Linked DNA regions of Homo sapiens: regions 2 and 3 are each linked to region 1. The links are contacts of gene promoters, found by promoter capture Hi-C in human tissues and cell types (Jung and others, 2019). All regions are on one chromosome and are shown on one strand. Each heading gives the region's core, a stretch centred on a gene start or on the middle of the fragment in contact. The rest is flanking DNA. Distances are from core to core; before and after follow the strand shown.

Region 1 (4,878 bases), core at 836-3,335:
ACAAAATATTTTACCATTCCTCTCTTGGTAGACATTTGAGTTTAGTTTTGTTTCTTTTCAATTTTTCACTAATATAAACAACACTACAATGAATATCCAGGTAGATAAATCTTGTTGCTCAACCTTAGTTATTTCCTGAGGATGAATTTGAAGAATTAGAGTCACTGGAAAAATGAAATGCAAAAATGTTATGCTTTCAATAGCATGCCAAATTTCCCTTCAGAAAAACGACACCAAATTACATACCTGCTATCCACATGTATCTATGTTTGTGTTCTAAAATCTCCTTTAAAAAACAAAAACAAAAATTAAAAAAAAAAAAAACTTTAAACCGCAATCTTTTAAATCACAGTATCATAACGTCTAAGAGACAGAAGATATCTTAAGAGTCATTTAGTCTAATCTCCTGCATTATGGACATACTTTTTCATGCAGCATTCCTGATCTGAGGTATCTATCGTGCAATTTGTAGAAGGTGGGACAGAAAACAAACAAACAAACAAACAAATCTTAAATATCCTTAAACTACAAAGCAATTTTCTTCACCTCTGAGCAATGTAACACTGTTCAAACTGTTCTAAAATGCATCCAGAATAAGAGTGCTTCAATAGAAATGAGGAAACTTTGGCAGGCTTTCAACATACTTGACACAGGTCAAGAAATAATCAAGATTTTTTGGTCATTCTCCACTTGGAATGGGTTTGCTCTAGGTGTTGGCAGCTGAACATACATGTCTTGCTCTAGGCAGTTGCTTAGCAGTTTGGTTTTCTTTTGCTTTTGGGAATTCAGGAAACAGAGGTGGGTGGTCAGTGGGAGAAGGTTGATTGTCTAGAGACCAAAATGAATTAAATACTTTATTACCTTTCCAGTAAAGGGGCTGTGAGTCTAACTGTATGTGTGGTTCCCTCCACCACACCCTAAATCAAAAGTTCCATCCCTGGAGTCTCTTTAATTCTAGAGACACTGAGATTTAGCTCATACAGAAGGAGAAAATGACCTTCAACTGGATAAGCTTTCCTTGAGTACCCATTAGATACAAAACACTGCTGGATGTTGCAGTGAGAACAAACAAACAAAAAGCACAGGGAATACTCATATGTGAGTGAAGAGATAAATCTATAAATATATAAGTTCCGCAAGTGATTGGCAAATAAAATTCTGAGAGGGCAAAGAGAGGGGAAAGATTTCTGCCTCGAGTCAGAGGACTGGGGTAGCGGAAAAAAGCTTTAGAAAAAAAGGTGGTATTTGTAGAGTCTGGAGAGGCGGGTTCCTCTGCCCCAAACTGGTGTCTACTGCAGATATGGTAAATAATTAAAATCATGAAATAAGAACATCACTAAAACCATTAATTTGACTTACTCTTAAAACACACGCGCGCACGCGAGCGCGCTCGCACACACACACACTGGCGTGCGCGCGCTTTTTTAAGGGGCCTATAGACTCCATTTCGGCTGCAGGTTAAAGTCATCCCAGGAAGGAGAAAGGAAAATTGAATTCCACCTTCTTCTGATTTAGAAAGCTAGATTGGTTGAGGATCGGGATCAGGGACCACAACTCAACCCCGAAACTTTGGGCTTCCAGAACTGCAGGGGAAACTGATTCTGAGATCAGACAACGGACCCTGGGGCGGGAGGGGGGTACCTTATTCATAACCCTCCCTCACAATAGCGGAGCACAGTACTCAGCACCCAGTAAACACTCATTTGTCGAATTGATTTTAAGCCTCCGCTTTTCCCCCAAGGAGGGCAATCAATCCCTTGCACGTTTTGCTCCTTTCACCAGCTTAATTCAGCTCTGATCTCAGTAGTTAGAAAAATAGGAGAAAGAATGGGGCCATAGCCTGCTGCAAGTAGAGCTGTGTAAGGGGGTGCGAGGAAGGCAGGCGAGAGCAGCAGAGGGAGTTAATACTCCTACCTCAGCTGGTCTCCGGCAGCCAACGCTCAGCCCCCGCCTCCTCTCTCCATTCCGGACCCCGCAACCGCGAGGCGAGAGAGCAGCGCCGGCGAGGCACTGGCTGGGCTCTGACTGTCACGTTAATTCCCTGCTGCTTTTTCTAGTCCCCAGCCGCCTCGCCCCTCCTCCCTCATTCCCAGCCTGGGTTTGGAGGCGATTTCCCTCTATTGACTGAGCCGACTGCATCTCTGGGCAAGCGGCGCTTTGCCTCTCTCCTGTCTTTGTCTGCTCTTCCTGCAAGGCTACGGCGCCTGGAGCAGGGTCTGCAGCGGCCGCCGCAGCAACGCGAGCCAAGTCGTGCCCCGCACGGCCGCCCGGGGCCGCACCCTCGCTCGGTGGCGGCGCCCGAAGACGCCAGCCGCGCCACGCACTGCCTGCGTCCCGCGCCCCAGCCGCCGCGCACCAACGCCGCCGCCTTCGCCGGGAGCCAAGCCCGCCGGGCCGGCCCGGTCCCAGGTGGGCAGCTCGGCTTGCAGCTGGTTGGAGGTGGCGGCCGCTGCAGCCCTGGCAGCGGGCACACCCCTAAGCATACGCACCCAACGCCTCCTCCCTGAGCCACGAGGATGGAGCAGCCACCCCGGCCCGGGACTGGCGCAAGGTAAGGTGCAGCCGCCTGTTGCTTTTCGCAGAGCGCGGGATCATCCCTCTGCCCGGGTACCTAGGCCGTCCCTCCAAGGAACAAGTAGAGGAGAACTATTACACCAGTTCTAAGCCGTGCCTGTCTAAGCCTCCCTGATCCCTTTTGCGCAGACCCTGGGAGAGACCTCCTCCTGGAGAGAGAGAGTCGACCCTCTTCGCTCCTGTTCAGCCGGCTGCTATACAATAGTCTGCAAACTTTTGTGACCCCTTCCCTGCGCGGTGCTCACCCCGTGCTGTGCAACTTGCAGGTTTAGTTCTTGCCCTTCCCCCAGCCCCTCTTGCCATATGCATCTGCCCATTTCTCTCTGTGTGTTCTTGCCAGTCGACTTTTCACTCCCCGCAGCTCTGGCTCCTGAGGCGAGGGTTTGGGACCCAGCAGTGCTCGTCCTGCCTCTAGGAGCTGGGTAGGGACAGAGAAGGTGAAATAAGAGAGGTGGGACATGGAGGATGGCTGCGGCCACCCCTGAAGCTTCGTCCAGCGCGATGGGAGTCAGTCCATCCTTGCACACGCCACCCCCAACTCGGCAATGAAACCTTTGGAGTGGCTTGCGGCTGTGCGCCGTGGGAACTGCAAGTGCAGATATGGGTGGGTGAAGTAAGTGGCTCAGGGAGGGAAAGGCTGCTCGTGCGGTGGAGGAGGAAGCTGAGGGTCGGGTAGATCTGCCCACGGTTGAGGGAAATGAAAAGGTACTGCTAATGTGGGCGAGCGGCCAGCCCTGAGAGGCCATCTGACGAAGAGGAAAAGGGATTTGAGTCCGGAGGGCGCTGGCCTGGGTATGTAAATACAGATGGGGGAGGGGCTGGGTACCTGGGGGCGCGTGGAGACAAGGAATGGAGCCCCGGAATGCCGGGCCCTTGGGTACTTGGGAAGGCAGGCTGCTGAGTGCCTGGGATGGGGCGATCTTCCTCCCCAGAAGCAAACAAACCTCCCCGCGAGAATCTGAATGCGTTGGCATCTTGGGTGGTGACTGAATGGTCAGATCGTGGACTAGGGATGCTTCTCCAAGCTCTAAGAGGACCATAGTCTGCTCTCTTCTCTGGCACCCGCTTGCTTCTACGCTCCTTCACCTCTGCAGCCAGGTCGGTAGACCCACGCCCACCTTCCCTGCCAGGCACTCAGGAGTCAAGGATGTTTCCACAGCCGCAGTGTAGGAAGGGGACTCCTGCCTCCCAGGGGGAGACGTGTGTGCGGGGTAGAGGGGAGTCCCCAGCGCGCGGCGAGTAAACAGGGGTCCAAAGTGGTTGGAGGAGAGCGCAGGAGCGGAGGCTGCGGTGGGAGCCACTTTCCCCCGCCCCTCCACAAATCGCACCTGGGCGGAGCGAGGGAGTGGGGGGAGCCCTGTGCTGCGCCCGGGAGGCTGGGGAGCGCAGAGCTGGAGGGCGTGCAGGGAAACGCAGAGCTAGGAGGTGTGGGCCTCGGGTGAGGGGAGACCCAGCTCTTAGACCTGGGAGCCCAGACAGAGGTGGATCTGCCCACCTTGCAGCTCCCAGGTAGATTCTTCTTGTGGCTCCAGATGCTCTGGCGAATGCAGGAGGGGGAGGCTCTTTTCTCCTTTGCACCCCAGCAATCTGGAGTGCAAGACCGTTTGCGGGAGGGGGCTTAGTCGGCTGTTTCGAAGAGGCAGCCTCCCCTCCCTTTTATCCATCAAGCCCCCTATTTCCTGGTGGGGGCACAGTGACTGCCAAGGCCAGTAAGCACCTCACTTAACCCTTCTCTCCCTGAGGAGGTGCATGCTCCTCTCCCAGAGGTGCCTTTGGCTGAGAGTGGATCCCTGGTTCCTAGTAGCCCTATAGGGAAACATTTGGAGGTTGGGTGGGTTTGGAACCCTGTACAACCTTTAGGTCCTCCCTGTTCAGACCTTCCACGTGCAGGCTTTTCTTACTTTCTCCGCGGGTGCCCTACAGAGGACTCCTGCTGCCTTGTACCAGTTGGGAAAAAGCAAAATTCAGAGCAGTTCCTTTTTCTGGGTCCCTCGCCTTGGCCACATCGGAGGAAACGTCGACTCGCCAGGGCTCCCGGGAGAAATCCCGAGGTCAGTCCCTCCCATTCTGGGGCACCCCTGGAGCAGCTAGCTCCCTGCCTAGCGGTGGCAAACTCCAGAGCCCCAAGGAGCAGAACGGGGATTCCCTGTGCGCAGGCTCCTGGTGCAGCTCCTGAGCACAAAGGCCACACCCTCACAGACCAGGCCTGGTGAGAGAGCCGGGCTTCTTCAGAAGTACCTGGATACCTGAGGTAGGATCCTAGACTTGAAACTCGCACTCCACGAGATTTAGCTCTGACCCCCC
Region 2 (4,878 bases), core at 745-3,244, 64 kb after region 1:
CTTGCAAGGGCCCTCTTGCTGCACCACCACATGGCAGAAGGCAGAAGGGCAAAGAGACTAAAAGGGGGCCAAACTTGTCCTTTTTTAATGGCATTAATCCACCCAGGAGGGCAAAGCCCTCATAGCCTAATCACCTCTCAAAGGTATCACCTCTTAATACTGTGGATAGCAGTTAAATGTCAACACGTGTTTTGGAGGGGACAAACATTGAAACCATAGCACTGACTTTCAATAAACATATGTAATATGTTCAGAGTGGAACTCATTATTCATTCAGATCCCTGAGTTCACCAGTAGCAGATCTCTGTTACTCCATTCTCACATACAATGGAGTGCTTGCAGTCACTCAAACACAGGTTTCTTTATTTTATTTTATTTTATTTTATTTTATTTTAAATGGAGTTTTGCTCTTGTTGCCCAGGCTGGAGTGCAGTGGTGCGATCTCAGCTCACTGCAATCTCCACCTCCAGGCTTCAACCAATTCTCCTGCCTGAGCCTCCTGCGTAGCTGGGATTATGGGCGTGTGCCACCACACCCAGCTAATTTTGTATTTCTAGTAGAGATGGGGTTTCAACAAGTTGGTCAGGCTGGTCTCGAACTCCCGACCTCAGGTGATCCACCCACCTTGGCCTCTCAAAATGCTGGGATTGCAGGCATGAGGTACTGTGCCTGGCCCACATGGGGGTTATTGTTGTTGTTTTTTGGCGGGTTTCATGTTTGTTCATTTATTTTTGCCTTCTTGATTTTACTTGACTTTCTTGTTTTCTAAAATGATCACCTCCCTTCAGTCTCTGCTTGTCAAAATGCTACCTATCTTACTAGTATGTGACCAAGGACCAGTCATTACATTTCTCTGAATCTTAGTTTGTGGAAGGAGGATACCCAACTAAGATATGGTAGACTCTCTCCCTCTCTCTCTCTCTCTCTCTCTCTCTCTCTCTCTCTCTATATATATATATATATATATATATATATATATATTCACATATATTCTTCAAATATATACAAGCTTCACTCATATATATATATGTGTGTGTGTATATATATATATATATATCTATATACCTCATTTTTAAAAACTACTATTACTATTTTATGACTATACCTTAATTTACTTAGGCAGTGCAGTTGATGGAAATTTCATATACAATAATTCAGAAAGATCTTAGTTTCATGAATCTCTATTCACTGAGCAAGTTGCCTGCTTTCCTCCTTTCAGACTTGGGGTTTAAATACTGTGTCTAATGTCATTTAGTGGTTCAGTGGGGGCACATGCCCAGATATGCTCCATCAATAGCTTAGTCCAGTCTCTCAGTTATGACATCTTTTTCTGGTGGCAAACATTCTCTAAGATTCTATTGGCAGTAGCTACCTCAGATAGGAAATACCAAGTTCTTAGGCTTAGTTAAAAAAAGTTACTTGTTCATTAATAGACTCGGCCGTGGTATAGGATTCATATAGACTATACCCCTTGCTTTGCCTAGGTAAATGGTTATTTATTTTCCTTTCTTTTTTTTTTCGAGATGGAGTCTCACTCTGTCACCCAGGCGGGAGTGCAGTGGTGCAATTGTGGCTCACTGCAAGCTCCGCCTCCCGGGTTCACGCCATTCTCCTGCCTCAGCCTCCCAAGTAGCTGGGACTACAGGTGCCCGCCACCACGCCCGGCTAATTTTTTGTATTTTTAGTAAAGATGGGGTTTCTCCATGTTAGCCAGGATTGTCTCGATCTCCTGGCCTCGTGATCCGCCTGCCTTGGCCTCCCAAAGTGCTGGGATTACAGGCGTGAGCCACCGCGCCCGGCCGGTAAATGGTTATTTCTTAATTTTCCATGCTCCTTATGGTAACTTCAACACTGCTTCTTTATATATCTAATTTGAAGCCCAATCTTTTTATCCAATTTCCATTTGGATCATTCATAGCCTTTTTCTCTCCTGCATCCCCCACCAACCAACCTGCATTTCTTCTTTGATGTGTTACATAACTTCTTGGAGTATATACCAACCTCATTGAAAAAAGTAAATATTCAGCTCAGAAAAAAAGTGTTAAGAAAATAAAAAAAGCCAGAGTGTGCAAAGATTAGTGACTATTAACTGTTGCATGTTGAGATTCTAGGGAAGAAGACTCTGAGATGGGATTTGGCATGCAAGAGGTTTATTAAGGAGTACCCTTGGGATCAACATTTGTGAATGGGGTGGGAAGGAATGGCAAGAAGGAGAAGATAAGCTGTGATGCAGAACCAACCACAGCCTCAGCCAACCTCTCAGCCAGCTCTGGATCTAGACTGGTCCTTCAGAGTTGTCCCATATTAGGCTGAGGGAGCTAGACCTTCATCCTCCCCCACTGGTCAGTCATTGGATGTGGGCTGTTTCTGGAAGGCAAAGTGTCTCTCTGCCACAGAGACAATCCCCGAATGGGTCACTAATTGAAAGCTCTCTGCTGCCAACACTCCCAGAAGCTGGGGCAAACCCTTTGTTGCAGGGTCATCTAGGTGGTGCCTCACAATGTCCACCACTGAGAACAGGACAGGGCATTGGTGACTGTAGTCCAACCCTTTCTTATAAGTGCAGGGAGAAAAAGACAATTCCATTGGTTCCAGGGTTCTATTCTCTCCCTGCCATTCTACATGTGTTGGAAACAGTGGTTTTAAAGGTCCTAATGTATTTTTCTTCCTTTTCATTATCCTTTAGGATTTTGATACAGCCTTTGCTTGCTTCTGCTTTTGATGTCCTTGGCATAATCTTTTAAGGAAATGTCCTCTTTATTTAAAATTTTTGCTGCTATGACAATCAGTGTATCCTCTGCATTATAATTGCTCTAAATATGTTCTAAGCATTCCTTTCTCTCTAGTTCTGAGGGGATAATATGCTTCCAAATATGAGTTTGTTTAATAAAATTTGGGCTTCTCTGTGTGGCACGCTGCCGCTGAGCATATAATTGCTTTTTCTTTTCTTTGAAGAAGCTACTGTTAGAGGGAGCTACCCCCACTTCTTTTTTCATCCCAGAGATCGTTTCCATACAGCCCACTCAATATTGCCTGGCAGCATGGGGTACAAGAATAGCAAGGAGAATTGAAACCCACAGAAGAGCTGCAGCCTCCTCCCTTTGTGTACTTGTGAGCTGAGCTGCTAACAAGTGGTAGAATCGATTCATTTGAATTTCAACTTCCTTCATTTCCTCTGTCTTCCCTCTGGTGCTGGTGATAATGAGCAATGAAAATGACCCAGGACTGAGGAGACAGATGGAATGGGAAGAGTATCAAGGGTTGAGATAATCCATAGTTTGAATAAGAATTAGCCTTGGCTCCTCTGCCTCCTGCAGCTTTATCTCATCCCACAGCAGCCACTGGACAGAACCACCAAACAAGGAGATGCTTCACAAGTAGCCTCTGGGAAGACTTTTGTCAGATTCCTCCTTGCTTTGGTGACATAAAGACACCTCATTGAAGCTTCCATCTTGGTTACATCAGAAGGAGGCTCAGGTATCCCTGGTGCACATGGGAGGACATAACATGGAAGTTTTATAATAACAGATTAATAGAAAAGGGACGAACCTATAAAGATATATCCAGATGTGAACCCATGAATTACGTTGAGTAAAAAATAATTAAAATACATCCACAGCTCTTTCTAAATATCTAGGCATCCATATTTTTCTGGTCAGCAGAAAAGAATGTTCCCTTACAGAGAAGAGCAGGCACACATTTTAAATAAAGAACCGCAGAAAGAATAATATTTGCTACTGCTTTGTGCCAAGGTTGAAAGTTCGACTTGGTCAGGGAATATTTGCCAGCACCAATAAAAAATAATGACTGTTCCCATCTGTATTAGCCTATTCCTAGATTTCTATAAAAAATACCTGAGACTGGGTCATTTATAACGAAAAGAAGTTTAATTTGCTCATGGTTCTTTAGGCTGTACAGGAAGCATGATGCTGGCATCTGCTCAGCTTCTGGGGAGGCCTCAGGAAACTTTCAATCATGGCACAAAGCAAAGGGGAATCAGGCATATCTTACATGGCCAGAGCAGGAAGAAGGAGAGGGAGATGCCACACACTTTTCAACAACCAGATCTCATGAGAACTCATCATCATGAGAACAGCACCAAGGGGATGGTGCTAAACCATTCACGAAAGATCCTCCCCCGTGTTCCAATCACCTCCCACCAGGCCCCACCTCCAACATTGAGGATTACAATTGAAAATGAGATTTGAGTGGGGACACAGATCCAGATCATATCACCATCTCACCCCCATAATCCCTGGCTAGAGTACAGTTTTTAACCACTTTGATTTGTGGCTGTAGAATGGCAAGCACAGCATTTCCACAAATAATTGTTGGTCACTTGTAAACAGATGTGCCTAGATTCCCAAACAGATAAGAATCTACTACCTGCAAAGGAGAAGAATCAGCTTTTAACGTCACCAAGGCCTCAGTTATCCCATAATAGGATGAGTGCCACTTTCCACAGGTGGAGAGACCTCAGTGTCTGCAGACCTGCGATGTTTCCTAGACTCCAGGGAGTTCCAGCAGCTGAGCATGAGGAGCCCTTATAGACTCTCAGACACTCCATCTCCCTAAGGGTTGAAAATGATGTCTTTTCTTCTAAGTTGGAGACAAAGTAGAGGAAAAGAGAGAAATGCTGGTACATTTAAAGTGAAAAATTTACTTAGTACACATTCAGTCTCTCCCTGACTCTCACTCTTTGTAAATATTTTACCCTCATGTTTTGATTAGGTGTTTCTCAAACTTGTAGGCCAGGCTAGCATCACAGGTTCAGTAACAGTGCATCTGGGACACCAGGACCAGTCCTGACAGGTTAAACAATGGTGACCTCCTCACAGAATCTGACCTCCTTCTGACAGTGGCCATCCCTGGGTGGCT
Region 3 (4,878 bases), core at 732-3,231, 34 kb before region 1:
AACATGGCATTTGAGGACTTCAGCATACGTTCCCACTTCTCCATCTGGTGACATTGATGACCACCTTGTCCTCTCACTGTATCATGTCACTGTGCTGAGTGACACATGCTAGAGTGAATGCCTAGAGTCCTTCCCTCCTCCTCACCTACCTGTAACTTCCAATTCTTTGAGTATCAGTTTTTTTTTTGTTGTTCCTCCAAGAAATCTCCTGACATCCCAGCCCCATTGGCTATGAGAGTTGACTTTTCTGGATTCACTTATTCTTAGTCTACTATATGTCAAATCCACCCACACCTCTCAACGTGCTCCCATGGGGCATTTAGTTTAGTGTGGCTGCAACCCCTGTAAAGGAATGATGTGCCATTCTCCGTATATATAATATCTAAGTAATCTCCATAATAATAGTACTAGAAAGGAGGACTGTGACGCTAATATCACAGATATGAGAATACTGAGGCACAGAGATTAACTTTCTCAAGGCCATAGAACTACAAATGGATAGTACCCAACTATGCCAAGGGAGAAGGCAGGGGAGCAGGATACTTTTTGGATAGGTGCTGTTGGTTCAAGCACACTTAAATGTAAATGCATCTGGATGTCACCATCTTGACTATTTGCCACTATACAGAGGAATGCAAAGGCATCAGAGACTGTGACTGCAGCCAGCAGTGCCCAAAACCCTTCTCCCTTGTGCCTGTGAGGCAGAGATGACACAGTCTCTGAGTGCACATGGTCCCAGTCCCTGACAGGAAGCAACTGTGATACTTGTGGGAGACTCAACAGCAAAGACATTGACTAGTGCCTATGAACATTGCTGCTGGATACTGCAGGGGGCAGGATGGGAGAAGCAGATTACATTTCCTTCATACTTTAAAATAATTTAATTATTTCTCATGCAGTCTAAATGCTCACTGCTTTAGACTAGCAGTGTGTTTTTATTTCATTTCATTTGCACTATCTAATTTCTGCTTACATCCACCCTGAGATAGCTGGCCTTTTCATATAAAGTAAGGCATGCTTTCTTAGTCTACAGTTAAGAAAACTGAAGTTCAGAGAAGCTAAACATTTTGTCCAAGATCGCACAACTGCTTAATTCTAAGAGCTGAGACTTGAATCTGAACTGCTAGTCCCGAAACCAATGCTTTTCCTATAATGCCATGTGTGTTCCCATAAGGAAGAGGTCAGAGTTGTGTTGTTTTGGATTCACATTACCTCTGAAAGTGACATACCAGCTGGCTGGGGATTATTTCTAGTCTAAAATGGTGTGGGAAAAGAAAAGGATCACTTACAACAAATCCTAGGCTTGATGTTTTCATGAACCACAGTTCAGCAAAACATTCTGTGGAATGGTTGTGTCCAGATTGGCATTGCTGTGAGACATCATCAGTGCTGCCACGGAGAGCCAGAAAAAAAATCCTTCCTGGTACGGCTAGGCACCCTCTCTGCTTTGTGACCCATCAGTCGGGTCTAAGGTTCAACTCCTTCCTAATTTCTCTTCTGCTGTTCGTCTCCCGCTAACAAGTTCTATCTCAACAGCTAGGGCACTAGCAATCTCTAGAGTCTCAGCAGCTGGGTTCTGTGCCCCTGTCTTCAGACAGTGATGCAGAAACTAAGCATCAACCATGGCAAAAGGCTGGTAGAGATATAATGTCTACTGTTTATCATGCAGTGTAGAACACGGAGCCATTCCCTCAGCCCTTTCCTCCCTCTGCCTCAAAGATGGGTTTGCATTTCCATTTGGTTGAGGGAACAGATGACCTTCCTTGAATGTGTCCATATCCAGCTTTATCTTCTATCAAACACCCATGCTTTACTCTCACAAGACACTTTTATATTCTTCCAGGGGGCTCATGACACTCATGCCCTCCTGACCTTTAACATTTCTTCATCTAGAACGACCTGACTTATCCGTTCCATGTCTAAAAACTGTGCCTATCTTTAACACTCAACTCAAATACCACCTCTCTTGGGATGTTCTCACTGTTTCCTCCTCTATTCCTCCTTTGACACTCTATAACTCCTTAGTTCTTATACCCCATATCACAGAAGTTACGAGCACTTGCTTTAGAGTCATAGAGTCAGGCTCAAAACCAGTACCTCCAATTACTAATAATAACACTAAGAAACCCATCAATTGCTCGGAATATTTCTTCACTCATCTTAAAATAGGAATAATAATAAGATCCTCTTCGGGAGACTGGTTAGGAGCTAAATGACATGGAATGATAACATACATTTATCATAATGCCACAATGTAGATAAAATACTATAGTAATTTGTTTTACTTCTTTTGCTACAAATAAGATTTCCTACTCCATACTTTGCAGAGCAGTTACTTGGATACATGCCATACACTGATTGCAGTGGGTTCAGTCTCTAGGCCTTACAAAAGGATTGAGTGGGGAAGGGAAGAAATAATAAGGATATGAAGATTGAAGCAAGTACATGTTTTTATTTGCCATTTTCTGCACAACAGAAAACTACTGTAGACTCAACAATGTGCTCCTGCTCTTCCAGGTTGCAGTCAGTTAATCCAGAATATCTGTGAATTTATTAGTACAGCTGCTTCCTCCTCAAGGCCCCTGATACTGTGAAGAATCTGGAATTCCTGATTCCTGCCAAAAAAAGAATACTGCCTGCCAAAGAGGTTGCAACTCTGGATTTTCCCAGTGGGAAGCCATAAAGATTCCTCACCTCATTTCTTAGCGCACTCTCAAAACTAGCATCTTAAGACTTTCCCGTTCATAGGCCCTAATTTTAATTCCCAAGACCCAGAAACATACCTGAGAGGTGTTGTCTAGGAGACATTCCAGTGGAAAATGTTAGTCTCTCTGTAGATAACTAGTACTTACATAGAACTCACTATGTGCTAAGTACTTTCTTTTAAAGGACTTTAAAGAGACTAACTCATTTAATTCTCATAGTGATCATAAAGGGTATTGCTATTGTAATCCTCATTTTACAAATGAGGAAACTGAGGCATCAAGAAGCTAACTTACCCAAGATTGCACAGTTAAAAAGCAGTCGAGCTGGGACTCAAACTCTAATCGTACCTCTGAGCCATGCCCCATTAATAAAATAGGCAGACAGCTGGAAAGTCATTTATACAGATACAAATTTAAATACTGATTTAAACTCTCTCCTTGAGACTCACATACACTACCACTTTCCCTAGCACTTGTCCCATCCTCTTCCCCAAACTAATTTAGATGCTGCTTCTTTATTTTTCTCTTATCCTTCTGGATCCACCTCAATCCTGATCCCCCCACCCCTACCCAAGACTGTGGGCCCTGAAGAACAGATAACATTTTTATTAATCTTTGCCACACCATTGTCTAGCGAAATGCCTGACACAGCAATATTTAGTGAATAAATGAATAAATGATTGAGGCTATATCTGTCTATTAAATCTATGGGAATCAATCTATACTGTTCCATTTCTGGAAAGTAGGGACAGTGCTTTTTATTTTTTTATACCCTCCTAAATGCTTAGTAGCTGTCTCATAATAAAGGCTCCCTGAGTGCTGGTTGAAAGAATAAATGAATAAACAACCCTTTTCTGGAAGTCCTGGTAAATCTTGCCCCTGCCTCTTTCTCTGTTCTGTGTCTCTCTAATGCTTTAGCCCCCACAGGCTTCATCTGTGTAGCTTATTCATGTTTAAAAATGAAGATGACACTCTACTGTCTTAGAAATATTCTAGACTCCAACTGCTATTTTTAAGAGGGACAAGTGCAATTGCGGTTACAGATCTATGTGAGGAACAGCAGGAGTTTATCATTTGTTGGTGCTGTGGAATAATTCCAACATTTATGGTTCATTTCTCCCTTTCTCCTCCCATCGTGTTTTCTCAGTTCCCAAGCTTGATAATGTCCTGCCATGTTATGAGAAAAATAGTACTAAATCTGATGGCGAGTCTGTGTTTGGGGAGTCTGGAAACACATTCTCTCTCTCTTTCTCTCTCTCTCTCTTTCTCTTCTCATCAAAAATGGCAGAGGTGGGGGCCGGGGTGTCCTGAGAGTAGTTAACTACCCTCACCATATTGTATCCAATCTATGTCATTGGGGGCACTATAGAGGATCCAAAAATAATTAATTTAATGTAGCCCTTCTCTTTCTCTTTTTCCTGGTCTCTGAGTTAAGGAGAAGATGACTAGAAATGTCATCCTCTACACTCTACATGCCAATATTTAGCTGGTAGGGAAACCTGGAGCCAAGGAGTCTGTTGAGCCCCTTTTAAGTGATAACATAAAATTCTAATAGGTAACTGTAGCCCACCTGCAAGGTGGCCCACAGTAATCTCTGCCTTCTGGTATTCATGCCTTCATACAGTTCCCTCCCATATTATACTAGGGTTGGTCTCTGTGACCAATAACCCAATATCACATGACAGAAGTGATGACATGTCACTTCCAAGATTAAATTCTATATCTGCTGTGACTTCCATGTGGGTCTTGTTCTTTCTCTCTCTTGGGTCATTCACTGTGGTGAAGCTAGCTCTGTGACTGTAAGCAGCCCAATGAGCACGCCTGCATGGTGAGAGACTGAAGTTCATTACCAACATCCATGTAAGTGGACTTGGCTCTTTGAACTCATCAAAGCATTGGGATGCCCGTAGCGCTGGTAAACATCTTGACCATAATTTCACAAGAGATTCTCAACCAGAACTATCCATCTAAAATGTTCTTAGATTCCTGACTTCAGAAGCTGGGTGAGATCATCAATGTTTGTTCTTATAAGCTGTTAAGTTTTGGAATAACTTGTTTTGCAGCAATAATTAACTAGTGCGGCTTTGTGGTTAATGCAAGGAGTTGAAATCAGACTGTGGTTGACATTGCCACATTTTAGCTATGTGAATTCTATGGGTTCCTTATTTTTCTG

What was found. Contacts are between HindIII fragments. The study calls those that stand out against the background at their distance.
Region 2: a contact is called between a fragment that was not itself captured here and the fragment with the promoter of LRRC3B in region 1, in 2 of the 25 tissues and cell types used here (aorta and dorsolateral prefrontal cortex).
Region 3: a fragment that was not itself captured here is called in contact with the fragment with the promoter of LRRC3B in region 1 in 2 of the 25 tissues and cell types used here (spleen and thymus).

What each region holds. Positions count from the first base shown.
Region 1 is chr3:26,620,687-26,625,564 of GRCh38, forward strand. It overlaps LRRC3B (leucine rich repeat containing 3B), which reads left to right and starts at 2,086. Exons shown (of 2, transcript NM_052953.4): 1 at 2,086-2,551. It overlaps LRRC3B-AS1 (LRRC3B antisense RNA 1), which reads right to left and starts at 2,077. Exons shown (of 4, transcript NR_183726.1): 1 at 1,915-2,077; 2 at 247-286. RefSeq lists enhancers at 1,420-1,935, 3,528-4,497. The HindIII fragment of the contact is 7,905 bases long and covers 1-4,878 here.
Region 2 is chr3:26,684,578-26,689,455 of GRCh38, forward strand. The region is part of intron 1 of LRRC3B (leucine rich repeat containing 3B); the gene reads left to right. Among named protein-coding and RNA genes, the nearest start is that of LRRC3B, 64 kb to the left of the region's middle. RefSeq lists a silencer at 1,620-1,828. The HindIII fragment of the contact is 4,428 bases long and covers 1-4,208 here.
Region 3 is chr3:26,586,528-26,591,405 of GRCh38, forward strand. No RefSeq gene overlaps it. Among named protein-coding and RNA genes, the nearest start is that of LRRC3B-AS1, 34 kb to the right of the region's middle. The HindIII fragment of the contact is 5,892 bases long and covers 1-4,878 here.